3 separate regions of the Homo sapiens genome follow, and all the other regions are linked to region 3. The links are contacts of gene promoters, found by promoter capture Hi-C in human tissues and cell types (Jung and others, 2019). All regions are on one chromosome and are shown on one strand. Each heading gives the region's core, a stretch centred on a gene start or on the middle of the fragment in contact. The rest is flanking DNA. Distances are from core to core; before and after follow the strand shown.

Evidence for each region. Contacts are between HindIII fragments. The study calls those that stand out against the background at their distance.
Region 1: a fragment that was not itself captured here is called in contact with the fragment with the promoter of NLRP12 in region 3 in 2 of the 25 tissues and cell types used here (heart left ventricle and spleen).
Region 2: a fragment that was not itself captured here is called in contact with the fragment with the promoter of NLRP12 in region 3 in 2 of the 25 tissues and cell types used here (H1 embryonic stem cells and thymus).

What each region holds. Positions count from the first base shown.
Region 1 is chr19:53,936,749-53,941,434 of GRCh38, reverse strand. All of the region lies in intron 4 of CACNG7 (calcium voltage-gated channel auxiliary subunit gamma 7), which reads right to left. Among named protein-coding and RNA genes, the nearest start is that of CACNG8, 24 kb to the left of the region's middle. The HindIII fragment of the contact is 6,086 bases long and covers 350-4,686 here.
Region 2 is chr19:53,901,880-53,906,801 of GRCh38, reverse strand. PRKCG (protein kinase C gamma) reads right to left here. Exons shown (of 18, transcript NM_002739.5): 15 at 3,649-3,729; 16 at 2,060-2,167; 17 at 345-485; 18 at 1-95. Among named protein-coding and RNA genes, the nearest start is that of CACNG7, 4.9 kb to the left of the region's middle. The HindIII fragment of the contact is 5,202 bases long and covers 1-3,974 here.
Region 3 is chr19:53,821,263-53,825,877 of GRCh38, reverse strand. NLRP12 (NLR family pyrin domain containing 12) reads left to right here and starts at 1,564. Exons shown (of 10, transcript NM_144687.4): 1 at 1,564-1,992. The coding sequence starts at 1,704. The HindIII fragment of the contact is 28,124 bases long and covers 1-4,615 here.

The DNA.
Region 1 (4,686 bases), core at 2,143-4,642, 110 kb before region 3:
AGTGGGCCCCTTTTCCCAGCCCCAGCCCCACCTCACTGCCTTCCCCTCCTCCCCATTCTGTCCTGGACTAACTTCCCTGAAGCCCCTTGTATGCTGGGCCTTGGTTGGGTGCAGGGAGCCCAGAGATGAATCAACAACCACCTCCCCCTTTATCCCCCTAAATCTGCCATCCAGGAGCTCACAATACAATTGGAGAAGGAAAATAGGAACACACTGATTAAGTCACATATAAGGTGATAGGTGCTACAAGGAAGTAGCACGCTGTGTGGGACTCTGGAAGGAGTGCCAAACCTGCCTGGGGCAGGGGCAAGAGAAATGAAGGAAAGATTTCTTTGTTCAAGTCTTCTTTTCTTTTCTCTCTTTTTTTTTTTTTGAAATGGAGTCTCACTCTGTGGCCTGGGCTGGAGTGCAGTGGCCCGATCTCGGCTCACCGCAACCTTCAACCTCCCAGGTTCAAGCGATTCTCCTGCCTCAGCCTCCCAAGTAGCTGGGATTACAGGCGCCCGCCACCACTCCCGACTAATTTTTTTTTTTATATTTTTAGTAGAGACGGGGTTTCACCATGTTGGCCAGGCTGGTCTCAAACTCCTGACCTCAGGTGATCCACCCACCTCGGCCTCCCCAAATGCTAAGATTACAGGTTTGAGCCACCGCGCCCGGCCTTAAAGGATGAGGCCCAGAGAAGAATAAGGGCACACTGGCAGAGTGCACAGCATGGGCAAAGGTTTCGGAAGGAGGGAAAATAGAGCTGGTCCACCCATGTAGCTGTAACATAAGCTGTAGCCACAAGAAATGAGGTTAGAGAAAGGGGAAGGTATAGCCATGGTGAGCCTCGAATGCCGGGCCCAGGAGCTGGGTGTTGACGCCAAGGGTGCTAGGGAGCTACACAAAGTTTGTAGCAGAGGAAGGACAGGGCCAGATCCCAGTGTTAGAAGAAACTTTGGGGGCTGGTTGATGCTGGGAACAGACTGGAGGGAGACATATTCCAGGGCGAAGAGGATGAGGCCTGAGCTGAGGCTGTGTGGATAATAATTGCAACAATAGCAATAATAATAGCAACGACTTATATAGGTCTTGGTCTGTGCCAGGCACTGTTCTTGGTGTTGTGTATATATATACATTCATTCAAACTTCACAACACCTCTTTGAAGGAGGTACATTTTTAACACCATTTACAATTGAGGAAATAGAGCATACGGACAGTGTGCAGAGGAGAGGTCCAATCTGAGAATTTCTAAGAGGCGATTATCATTTTCTCCAGATGAAATTTCCTCTAAACAGTAACCATGCCAAGAGTGGCTTAAGGAGGCTATAAAGTTCCCTGCCTTAAATGTATCTAACTAATCCCTATCAACCTCTTCCCCTAGAATCCTACATTCTGTGTGCCACACACAGAATAAGCCCAAATTCCTTCCACTGTCTACACCGGTGGTCGGCAAACCATGGTCCATGGACGAAACCCAGCTCACCCCCTCATTGTGTATGGCCCACCAGCTAAGAATGGCTTTCACATAAGTAAATGATGTTAAAAATCAAAACAAGACTGGTATTTTGTGGCACATAAAAAGTATATGAATTTCATTTGGCAGCGCCTCAAAAAGTTAAAGATAGAATTATCATATGACCCAGCAATTCCACTCCTAGGTATGTCCCCAAGAGAAGTGGAAACATATGTTCATACAAAAACGCATACACGGATGTTTGTAACAGCGTTATGCGTAATAGCCAAAAAGCGGAAACAGCCCAAATGCCCATCAGCTGATGAATGGATAAACAAAATGTGGTATATCCATATACAGGAATACTATTCAGCCAAAAAAGGGAACGATATACTGATTCATGCTACCATAGGGATGAACCTAGAAAGCAAGCTAAAAGAAGCCAGATGCAAAATATCACATATTGTGTGATTCCATTTATATGCAATGTCCAGAATAGGCAAATCCACAGAGACAGAAAGTAGATTAGTGGTTGCCAGGGAATAGGATGGAGGGGGAAATTGTGTCTGGCTGCTAAGGTGTGTGAGGTTTCTTTTGAGAATAATGAAAATGTTGTGAAATTAGCTAATGGAGATGGTTGCACAACCTTGTGGATGTACTGAAACATCACTGAATTATATGAAATTTATAGTATGTGAATTACATCTCAATTTTGTTTTTTGTTTTTTGGAATTTTTTGAGACAGATTCTTGCTCTGTCACCTAGGCTGGAGTGTAGTGGTGCAATCTCGGCTCACCGCAACCTCTGCCTCCTGGACTCAAGCGATTCTCCTGCCTCAGCCTCCTGCGTAGCTGGAATTAACAGGCACCCGCCACCATGCCTGGCTAATTTTTGTATTTTTAGTAGAGACAGGGCTTCACAATGTTGACCAGGCTGGTCTCAAACTCCTGACCTTAAGTGATCTGCCCACCTTGGCCTCCCAAAGTGCTGGGATTACAGGTGTGAGCCACCACACCCGGCCTTTTTTGTTTTGTTTTGTTTTGTTTTGAAGACAGGGTCTTGCTCTGTCACCCAGGCTGGAGAGCACTGGGACAATCATGGCTCACTGCAGCCTTCACTTCCCAGGCTCAAGTGATCCTCCCACCTCAGCCTCCCTAGTAGCTGGGACTACAGGTGCACACCACCACGCCCGGCTAATTTTTTGTATTTTTTGCAGAGACAGGGTTTTGCCATGTTGCCCAGGCTGGTCTCGAACTCCTGATCTCAAGTGATCTGCACACCTCATCTCCCAGAGTGCTGGGATTACAGGCGTGAGCCACTGTGCCTGGCTTTATATCTCAACTTTTTAAAGTACATTAATTTTAAATTTTGGTTTCTACAAATGATAGTGGAACACAGCCACACCCATTTGTTTACATATTGCCTGTGACTGGTTTTTTGCTACAACCACAAGGCTGAGCAGTTACAAGAGAGACTGGGTGGCCAATAAAGCTGAAGGTATTTATTATTTGGCTCTTTACAGAAAACTTCGCTGACCTCTTAGACTGCAGTATATAAATGGTCCGGTACCTGCCCACACCATCTCTGATCAGTTTCTCCTTGTTTCTTTTTCTTAGACCACCTAACTTTCTTTACTTTTTTTCTTTTTGGGACAGGGTCTTGCTCTGTTGTCCAGGCAGGAGTGCATTGGTGCAATCATAGCTCACTGCAGCCTCCACCTCCCTGGCTCAAGCAATCCTCACACCTCAGACTCATGAGTAGCTGGGACAACAGGCATGCACCACCATGCGGGGCTAACTTTTGCATTTTTTTGTAGAGACAGGGTCTCCCCATGTTGCCCAGGCTGGTCTCGAACTCCTGAGCTCAAGCAGTTCTTCCACCTTGGCCTCCCAAAGTGCTGGGATTACAAGCGTGAGCCACCACACTCGGCCTAGAACACCTAACTTTCTTGCTCTTCCTTGAACTCCTCAAGCTCACTTCTGCCTCAGGGCCTTTGGTCTTGCCATTCCTTCTACCTGGAATGCTCTTCCCCCAGATTTCCCCATGTCTATTTCTGTCACTTAGATCTCTCCTCACTTGTTGCCTCTTTAGAAAGACCTTCTATGGGCCAGGCGCAGTGGCTTAAGCCTGTAATCCCAGCACTTTGGGAGGCCCAGGTGAAAGGATCACTTGAGACCAGGGGTTTCAGACCAGCCTGGCCACCGTGGTGAAACCTCGTCTCTACTAAAAATACAAAAATTAGCTGGGTGCGATGGCACACACTCGTAACCCCAGCTACTCGGGATGCTGAGGCAGGAGGATTACTTGAACCCAGGAAGCAGAGGTTGCAATGAGTCAAGATCGTGCCACTGCACTCCAGCCTGGGCAACAAGAGCAAAACTCCGAGAAGGAGGGGAGGGGAGGGGAGGGGAGGGGAGGGAAGGGAAGGGGGGAGGAGACTTTTATGATCTCCCTGTTGAAAAAAGTAGATTTCCCTCACTCAAAATTTGAGAAATGCAAATGAAAAATATGATGAGCTACCACTTCTCATCAACCGGGTAGTCAGAAGTTTAAAAGCTTCACAGCACACTCTTTTGGGGAGGCTGAGAGAATGGACGTTCTTCTACATTGCTGGTGGGAATGCAAAACGGTGCCGCCACGTGAAAGGGGATTTAGTAGCATCTAACAAAATCACACACGGATCTGTCCTTTAACCCAGCAATCCCACTTCCAGGAATTTATCCTGAGGATATCTCTCCCGTGATGGGAAACCACACATGCACAGGCTGATTTATCGCAGCATGACTTGCCGTTGAAAAATAATGGAGGCTGGGCACCGTGGCTCATGAGTGGAATCTCCGCACCTCGGGAGGCCGAGGTGGGCAGATCACTTGAGGTCAGCAGCTCAAGACCAGCCTGGACAACATAGTGAGACCCCATCTCTACTAAAAATAAATAATTAGTTCCTGTTGTCTTAGCTACTTGGGAGGCTCAGGAGGGAGGATCCCTCGAGCCTAGGAGTTCAAGGCTGCAGTGAGCTATGACTGCACCACTGCACTCCCGCCTGGGTGACAGAGGGAGACTGTCTCAAAAAACTCAATTAAGTTAGGCTGGGCACGGTGGCTCATGCCTATAATCTCTGCATTTTGGGAGGCCAAGGTGGGCAGATCACTTAAGGTCAGGAGTTTGAGACCAGCCTGGCCAACATGGTGAAACCTGATCTCTACTAAAAATACAAAAATTAGCCAGGCATGGTGGTGGGTGCCTG
Region 2 (4,922 bases), core at 124-2,623, 81 kb before region 3:
TGGTCGATGCTGGCCAGGACTAGGCGGTCTGGAGGGGTCAGCGCTGGCGCCGCCCGCGTGAAGAACTTGTCAAAGTTCTCGCCGCTGCGGCCACACTGTGGGAGACGTGGGGGAGGGAAAGTTAAGCAGCTCCGAGGGCTCCTCGGGTGTCCCTCTGTGTACCCCAGTCTCATCTCCTGTCTCCTGCAGAATCTCTATTCATGCTTCATGGTGTCTGCACCTCCTTTTGTTGGGGGCGGGGGGCTCTGCAGAGGGAACCCCACCCCCACATACAGGTATATTGAGGCCCAGGGGAACCCCACCCCTTCAGGGACCAGGTTTTTGTTGCCTGGAGGGTGACTGACCGGGCGGGGTCTGAAAGGAGGCGGGATCTCCAATCGTTCCAGCCGCTCCCAGTCAATCCAGCGGAAAAAGCCATGTGCACGGATGGTAGGTTCCCCATCAGGCCCTGAGCCCAGGCGCTTCCCTGGGTGCTTGGTCAGGAACTGTGGGAAACACAGAGAGAGACAGACAGACAAACAGACAGAGTGCCGGACAGGTAGACCCAGAGAAAGAGGGACAGAGACAGGCAGATGGAGGAACCAAGAGACACAGGCATGAGATCCGGAGAGATAAGAACAGCCAGGGGAAACAGGCAAATGGAGGGAGGAAGGGAAAAGAAAGGAGAGAGAGAGAGAAGAAAAGAAGAAGAAGAAGAAGAAGAAGAAGAAGAAGAAGGAGGAGGAGGAGGAGGAGGAGGAGGAGGAGGAGGAGGAGGAGGGAGGAGGAGGAGGAGGGAGACAGACAGAGAGCGAGACAGAGAGAGACAGAGAGGAGAGAGAGAGGAAGAGGGACAGAGAGAGAGAGAGACAGAGGGTGAGAGTGAGTGAGAGAGAGAGAGAGAGAGACAGGAAGAAGGAGAGGATACATGAAAATGATAGCAGATGAAATTCATACCCAGAGACCCAGGGACACACAGAGAAACAGAACAAATCATGAGGGAGATGGAGAAGAGGAGAGGGAAAAGGGGTAGGGGGAGAGAGGGAAGGGGAGAGAGGGACGGGGAGAGGGAAGGGTAGGGGGAGGGAGGGAAGGGGAGAGTGAAGGACAGAGGGAGGTCGGTAGGGGGAGGGAGGGAAGGGTAGAGGAGATGAAGGGGAAGAGGGAGGGAATGGGGGAAGAGAGGTTGCAGACCCAGAGAAAAGGGGAAATAGAAATTCAGAGGGTGGTACAGAGACCCCAGGTAAGAAGGCAGAAACTCAGAGAAGGGAGGAGACAGAGGAGACCCAGGGGGACAGAGATTCAGAAAGAGAGAAGGATAGAGACCCAGGAAACACACACCCAGAGGGAGGAATAAAGACCAAATATGGGGACAGAGACCCAGAGAAAAGGGAGGACAGAAAGCCAGCAGGAGAGGAGGGTGAGATGTAGCGTGTGTGTATGAGAGTGGACACAGGAGGGGACAGAGATGGGGGGTAGGGGGGTTGGACAAAGGCCCAAAAGTGTAGACAGAGATGCAGAAGGAGACACAGAGAAAAGGAAGAAACACAGAGAGCCCCATCGTATGCAGATGGAGGGGAGGCATGAGACAGAAACCAGAGAGACTGTCAGGGAGATGCAGAGAGAGCAGCTAGACGCAGAAGGTGCTGACATGGGCTGAAAATCTGCTATGGGCCAGGTGCTTTCTTCTGTGTCAACTCCATAACCCCTGAAGAGAGTTAAGCTCACAAAGTTTTGGTGACTCACCCAAGTTCACACAGGAAGAAAAGCTGCAGAAGTTGGGTTTACCTGACCCACCCAGTTCTAGACAGACAGACACCCTGGACTTTCAGCACTTCCTGCAAGCAGGGAGCTGGGGAGTGGGAGTCACAGAGAAGGATGAGACAGAGGCCATCTCCAGGCCTCGTGGCAACAGGGCTGGAAATCATTGTTCTAACAAAACCTATGCATCATATCAACTTTTCCAACAGATGGAAGTAAAGTGACTTCAGGAATGGGAGCATTTTTCTAATAGGCACAGAGACAGCAATGGGGTGTGTGGTTGTGAGCCTGGAGAAGCTGGGAGTCAGGGGGCTCTCACCCCCTTGCAGATGGCCACGGCTTCCCGGGAAAGCGACTTGGGGTAGGTGACAGTTTGTTCCATGATGGCCTGAAACAGCTCCTCCTCGTCCTCCCCATCGAAGGGAGGCTATCAAAGTGGAGGGGATAGAGAGTCAGGGACATGCCCAACTGCCTTTCCCCAAACCTTCCACACCCTCCTCACCCCACCGGGAACATGCCTGACCCATCACACGCCCCACATGCACACCTGACCACACCCTCAGGAGAGATCAGACCAAACCACCAAAGCTTGATCTCTCTCCTTCTCAGGTTCTCTCATTTCCTATCTCGGATGCCTCAGATCTGTGCATCTCTGTACTATTCTGCCTCTCTTTATCTGCTATGTAAATCAGCAGGCTGTTAATTATGCAACATGTCAGTTAAATAGAAGAGAGGAAAAACTGCAGGAAACACCCTAAAAGCATTCTCCTGGTTGGATGAGTAGTTCACAGTCTTCTGAGGTTACAAAAAATGATACCAAGGCAAAGATTTAGAGATGGGGTTTCATCATATTGGCCAGGCTGGTCTCAAACTCCTGACCTCAAGTGATCTGCCCACTTCGGCCTCCCAAAGTGCTTGGATTACAGGCGTGAGCCACCATGTCCGGCCAAATTTTTTTTTAACTTCTAACTAAAATTTAGCATTCCCTTCAGTTATGAATGCAGGCAGCAGCAGTGCTTGTGGCTTCATTATCAATAGTAATCACAGGTATTTTCTCATCACATGAGAGTTGCAGATATTCCAAATTATTAGTCATTGCTACATCAAAATTACTGTTAGAGCTCCTTTTTACTTTACTACCATTAGAACTTACTACTTAATGAATTAATAAGAAATTGCACATATGTCCATTTTCCAATTTTAAATATTTAGACAACTGTATACATTGAATTTAGTTGGTTGTTAGATTCAATTAAATTTTAAAAGTTTTGGTGACTATCTTTCAAAATGATTGATTTCTTTTGTTTGTTTGTTCTTTTGAGATGGGGTCTTGCTCTGTCGCCTGTGCTGGAACACAGTGGCATACTCATAGTTCAGTGTAACCTTGAGTTCTTGGGCTCATGTGACCCTCCTGCCTCAGCCTCCCCAGTAGCTGGGACTATAGGTGCCCACTACCATAGCCAGCTAAGAAGATGATCAAGAGTGTGGTAACCAATTTTTTTAGTTGTAGTACACTCAGCAGTCCAGGAATCCAATCAAGCTGATTTAGAATGTATGTAATTGTCTAAGCTGACACAGCCAGTAAGTGGCAAAGTGAGGATTTGAACCTTGGTTTTCTGCGTATGTATTATTCTATTTTGTGCATTGAAAAACATTCTTCTGAGAAGGGATCCATAGGCTTAACCAGACTGCTACTTTACCATCTAGGGAGAAAGAATCCATGGTAACAGAACAAACAAAACAAAACAAAACAAAACACCTGGTCTACATTAAGACAACACTTCAGAACCATGGACAGCGCTATTCGAGCACAACCTTCTGGGCTCCTTTCTAACTGGCTCCTCCTGAGATCCAGGTGCCCCTCTCTGTCTCTTTTAGCCAAGCCAGCTTCTCCCCACCTTCCCTTACCTGTCCTGCCAACATCTCATACAGCAGAACTCCAAAGGACCACCAATCGACAGACTTCCCATAGGGCTGGTAGGCAATGATCTAGGGGAGGTGGAAGGCAGGGAATCATGATGCGTTCTTTAGGAAGCCTAGGACCCCTCTGGCCTCACCCCCTGGGAGCGCTACCCACGTTAAGTGCTTTCAGCACAAGCTCTTCCCACTCTGAATATTTATTTCATCAGGTGATTTTTTGTTTCGTTTTTTTTTTTTTTTTTTTTTTTTTTGACAGGGTCTCACTCTGTTGCCCAGGCTGGAGCACAGTAGTGTGATCACGGCTCACTCAGCCTCAACTTCCCAGGCTCAGGTAATTCTTCTACCTCAGCCTCCCAAGTAGGTGGGCTACAGGTGTGCACCACCACACCTGGCTAATTTTTGCACTTTTAGTGAAGATAGGTCCTCACTATGTTGCCCAGGCTGGTCTCAAACTCCCGGACTCAAGCAATTGGCCTGCCTCCGCCTCCCAAAGTGCTGGGATTATAGGAGTGAGCCACCACGCCCAGCCTCCACTCTGAATATTTTGGCCAGCGATCTAACTTTTGGAATATTCTGGAAACAAAGCATACCTACTTCAAACATTCATTTGGCCTCAAATAGAAAGACTACCTAACGGCCAAGTCACTGGTTCCACCCACCTAGAATATTTGTGTCAGAGTCAGGAATATGTGTGTAGTTTTCAAATTTTCTTATCTTTTTTCTTTTTTGAGATGGAGTCTCACTCTGTAGCCCAGGATGCAGTGCAGTGGTGCAATCTTGGCTCACTGCAACCTCCACCTCCTGGGTTCAAGTGATTCTCCTGCCTCAGCCTCCTGAGTAGCTGGGTTGACAGGCACACATCACCATGTCCAGCTAATTTTTGTATTTTTAGTAGAGACGGGGTTTCACCATGTTGGCTAGGCTGGTCTTGAATTCCTGACCTCAAGTGATCTGCCTGCCTCAGCTTCCCAAAGTGCTGGGATTACAGGCATGAGCCACCATGTCTGGCCTCAGTTTTCAAATTTTCTACAGATGATTCTGATTACCAGCCAGGTTTTGTGATCACTGACATTGATTATTTGGGCACGAGTCAGGCACATCCTCCCAAGTAGCTGGGACTACAGGCATGTGCTTTATCCATCTATACGTACATTCAGAACATCAGCCCCACCCCTTTAACAAAGTCGGGTAATACCCCACCCACTTAAAATACTCATAGGACAGCATCTGCTCTCCCAGAACCTTAGGGATCTCACCCTGCC
Region 3 (4,615 bases), core at 315-2,814:
CTGGCCTCAGGTGATCTACCTGCCTTGGCCTCCCCAAGTGCTAGGATTACAGGCATGAGCCATTGCACCCAGTCACATCTTCCTCTTACACTAACCCTCCTGTCTTCTTCTTATAAAGACTCTTGTGGCTGGGTGCGGTGGCTCACGCCTGTAATCCCAGCACTTTGGGAGGCTGAGGCAGGTGGATCACGAAGTCAGGAGATCAAGACCATCCTGGCTAACATGGTGAAACCCCATCTCTACTAAAAATACAAAAAAAAGAGAATTAGCCAGGCGTGTTGGCGGGCACCTGTAGTCCCAGCTATACGGAAGGCTGAGGCAGGAGAATGGTGTGAACCTGGGAGGCGGAGCTTGCAGTGATCCGAGTTCGTGCCACTGCACTCCAGCCTGGGCAACAGAGCAAGACTCTGTCTCAAAAAAAAGACTCTTGTGATTCCATGGGTCCTGCCCAGATAACCAGGATAATGTCCCCATCTGAAGTGCCTTCATTTGGTCACATATGCTAAGTCTCTTTTGCTATGTAGGGTGAAATGTCACAGGTTCTGGCCATTAGGACATGAATATCTTTGGGGACCATCATCCTGCCTACCGCAAAGTCCCTCTCATGCCACTCTTGTGACTGAGAGAACAGAAAAAAAATAGCAGACCTACGTGAGGTCCTTAATAATTCTCCCTGAGGCTGGGCTCAGTGGCTCATGCCTGTAATCCCAGCACTTTGGAAGGCTGAGGTGGGCGGATCGTTTGAGCTCAGGAGTTCAAGGCCAGCCTGGGCAACATAAGAAGACCTTGTCTCTACCAAAACTACAAAAACTTAGCTGGGCATGGTGGCGCATGTCTGTGGTCCCAGCTACTTGAGAGGCTGAGGTGGGAGAATCGCTGGAACCTGGGAGGCGGAGGTTGCAGTGAGCTGAGATCACGCCAGTGAACTCTAGCCTGGGTGGCAGAGTGAGACTCTGACTCAAAGAAAAAAAAAAAAAAAAAAGCCAGGGACGGTGGCTCACACCTGTAATCCTAGCACTTTGGAAGGCTGAGGCGGGTGGATCACCTGAGGTCAGGAGTTCGAGACCAGCCTGACCAACATGGTGAAACCCTGTCTCTTCTAAAACCACAAAAATTAGCTGGGTGTGGTGTCCGGCGCCTGTAATCCCAGCTACTCAAGGGAAGCTGAGGTGGGAGAATCGCTTGAACCTGGGAGGCAGAGGTTGCGGTGAGCCAAGATCGCAGAGCCAGGGCCACAGAGTAAGACTCTGTCTCAAAAAAAAAAAAATTCTCCCTGGAAGAGGCGCAGTCGCAGTTTTGATAATACACTCTACCACACACACTAGTGAAATGAGGAAAACAAGAGGAAAGCGGAAAGAGAGTGACTGTTTTGTCAAGAGATCCAGGAAGAGACAGCAGAAGTGAAAATCTTTTTCATCAGCCAAGTGGCTCCTCGGATTTCTTAATCTCCCCCCGAACTTCCTCTTCTCCACCCAGAACAGCCATTGGTGAGTGGGGCAGGGCAGGAGGGAACTGAAGAGTGAGAAAGCATTATTTCAGCAAAAGGTCTTTCCTCCCTTGCTCTCTCCTCCAACCACTGGCTCAGCCTCTCCGCCCGCTGCCTGTGAATGATGCAATGGAAGGTGTGCTGGGGTCGCCCTGTGTCCCGTGCATAGGAGCATCTCAGCCTCCAGGTCCTCTCCTTTGGGGCTCACGGCACCCCCATGCTACGAACCGCAGGCAGGGACGGCCTCTGTCGCCTGTCCACCTACTTGGAAGAACTCGAGGCTGTGGAACTGAAGAAGTTCAAGTTATACCTGGGGACCGCGACAGAGCTGGGAGAAGGCAAGATCCCCTGGGGAAGCATGGAGAAGGCCGGTCCCCTGGAAATGGCCCAGCTGCTCATCACCCACTTCGGGCCAGAGGAGGCCTGGAGGTTGGCTCTCAGCACCTTTGAGCGGATAAACAGGAAGGACCTGTGGGAGAGAGGACAGAGAGAGGACCTGGTGAGGGGTAAGGAGGTGGCGGGACAGGCAAGGCTAGAATGCCAGCCGGGTCCAGTGACTCATACCTGTAATCTCAGCACTTTGGGAGGCTGAAGAGGGCAGATCACTTGAGGTGAGGAGTTCAAGACCAGTCTGGACAACATAGTGAGGCTCTGTCTCTACCAAAAATAAAAAAAATTAGCCAGGTGTGGTGGTATACGTCTGTGATCCCAGCTTCTCAGGAGGCTGAGGTGGGAGGATCACTTGAGACCAGAAGGTCGAGGCTGCGGTGAGCTATGATCCTGCCACTGCACCCCAGCCTAGGTGACAGAACGAGACCTTGCCTCAAATATTTAAAATATATTTTTTTAAAATATATATATTTAAAATATATGTTTTAAATATATATTTTAAATAAATATATTTTAAAATATATATTTTAAATATATATTTAAAATATATATTTAAAACATATATTTTAAATATATATATTTAAAACATATATTTTAAATATATATTTAAAATATGTATATAATTATATTATTAAATATATATTAAATATGGTATATATTATATATAAATATAGTATATATTTATTATATAAATATACTATATTATATAAATATGGTATATTATATAAATATATATAAATAATAAATATTATATATTAAATATTTAATACATATATTATTAAAATAAATATTTAAAATACATATATATAAAATCCCTGAGCCTGGGAGATCTGGAATTTATATATATATACACACACGTATATATATGTGTATATATGTGTATATATATGTGTGTGTATATGTGTGTGTGTATATATATTTTAAGAGATGAGGTAGCCAGGTGCAGTGGCTCACACCTATAATCCCAGCACTTTGGGAGGCCAAGGCGGGTGGGTCACCTGAGGTCAGGAATTCGAGATCAGTCTGGCCAACATAGCAAAACCCTGTCTCTACTAAAAATACAAAAATTAGCCAGGCGTGGTGGCACACGCTTATAGTCCCAGCTACATGGGAGGCTGAGGCAGGAGAATCGCTTGAACCTGAGAGGTGGAGATTGCAGTGAGTTGAGATTGCACCACTGTACTCCAGGCTGGGTAACAGAGTGAAACCCCATCTCAAAAATAAATTAAGAAAGAGATGAGGTATCCTTTTTTTTTTTTTTTTTTAAGACTGAGTCTCGCTCTGTTGCCCAGGCTGGAGTGCAGTGGCGCAATCTCCGCTCACTGCAACCTCCGTCTCCCAGGTTCAAGCAATTTTCTGCCTCAGCATCCCGAGTAGCTGAGATTACAGGTACCTGCCACCATGCCTGGCTAATTTTTTGTATTTGTATTTTTTGTAGAGACGGGGTTTCACTATCTTGGCCAGGCTGGTCTTGAACTTCTGACCTCGTGATCCACCCACCTCAGCCTCCCAAAGTGCTGGGATTACGGGCATAAGCCACTGTGCCCGGCCAAGATGAGGTGTCCTTATGTTGCCCGGGCTGGTCTTGAACTCCTGGGCTCAAGCGAGCTTCCACCTTAGCCTCCCAAAGTGCTGGGATTACAGGCATGAATGACCACTGCCTGGCCACCAATTCCCTTTTCTTTCATACTAATCCCTGAGCCTGGGAGATCTGGAATTCTAATTTACGTACACACACATCTATATCTATATAAAAATTTCAACTTTTAGATTCAAGGGGTACATGTGCAGGTTTGTTACATGGGTATATTGAGTGATGCTGAGATTCAGAGTAAGATTGATCCTATCATGCAGGTACTTGAACATAGTAATAGTACCCAATGGTGAGATTTCTCCCCGCCACGAGTCCCCAGTGTCTCTTCTTCCCATCTTTCTGTCCATGAGAACCCAATGTTTAGCTTCCACTTATAAGTGAGAACATGCAGTCTTTGGTTTTCTATTCCTGCATTAGTTTGCTTTGGATAATGGCCTCCAGCTGCGTCCATGTTACTGCAAAGAACATGATTTTGTTCTTTTTTATGACTGTGTACAGAATTCTAATTTCATCCCTTTGGTCTTTGTTCATGCTGTGTTCTGCCTGGAATATTCTCCATCTTCTTTGCCTGGAAAAGTATTACTTACTGAAACCTTGAAGCCACTACCTTCTCTAAAGTAAAGTATTTACTCCTCTTCCCCCACTCCTTCTGATTCCTCGCTCCCACCACTCTGGCTGGCTCAGAAACCCCACTTCTGTGCCTCCTTAGCACTCTTGGATTTCTTTTTGTTGTTGTTGTTGAAACAGAGTCTTGCTCTGTCGCCCAGGCTGGAGTGCAGTGGCGCAATCTCAGCTCACTGCAAGCTCTACCTCCTGGGTTCACGCCATTCTCCTGCCTCAGCCTCCCGAGTAGCTGGGACTGCAGGTGCCCGCCACCATGCCTGGCTAATTTTTTGTATTTTTAATAGAGACGGGGTTTCCCTATGTTAGCCAGGATGGTCTCGATCTCCTGACCTCATGATCCAGCCGTCTCGGCCTCCCAAAGTGCTGTGATTACAGGTGTGAGCCACCGTGCCCAGCCAACATGATTTCTTTTATTATATCTTCTATCTCATAAAATAATCACAATGAGCTGGGTGCGGTGGCTCACGCCTGTAATCCCAGCACTTTGGGAGATTGAGGTGGATGGATCACCTGAGGTCAGG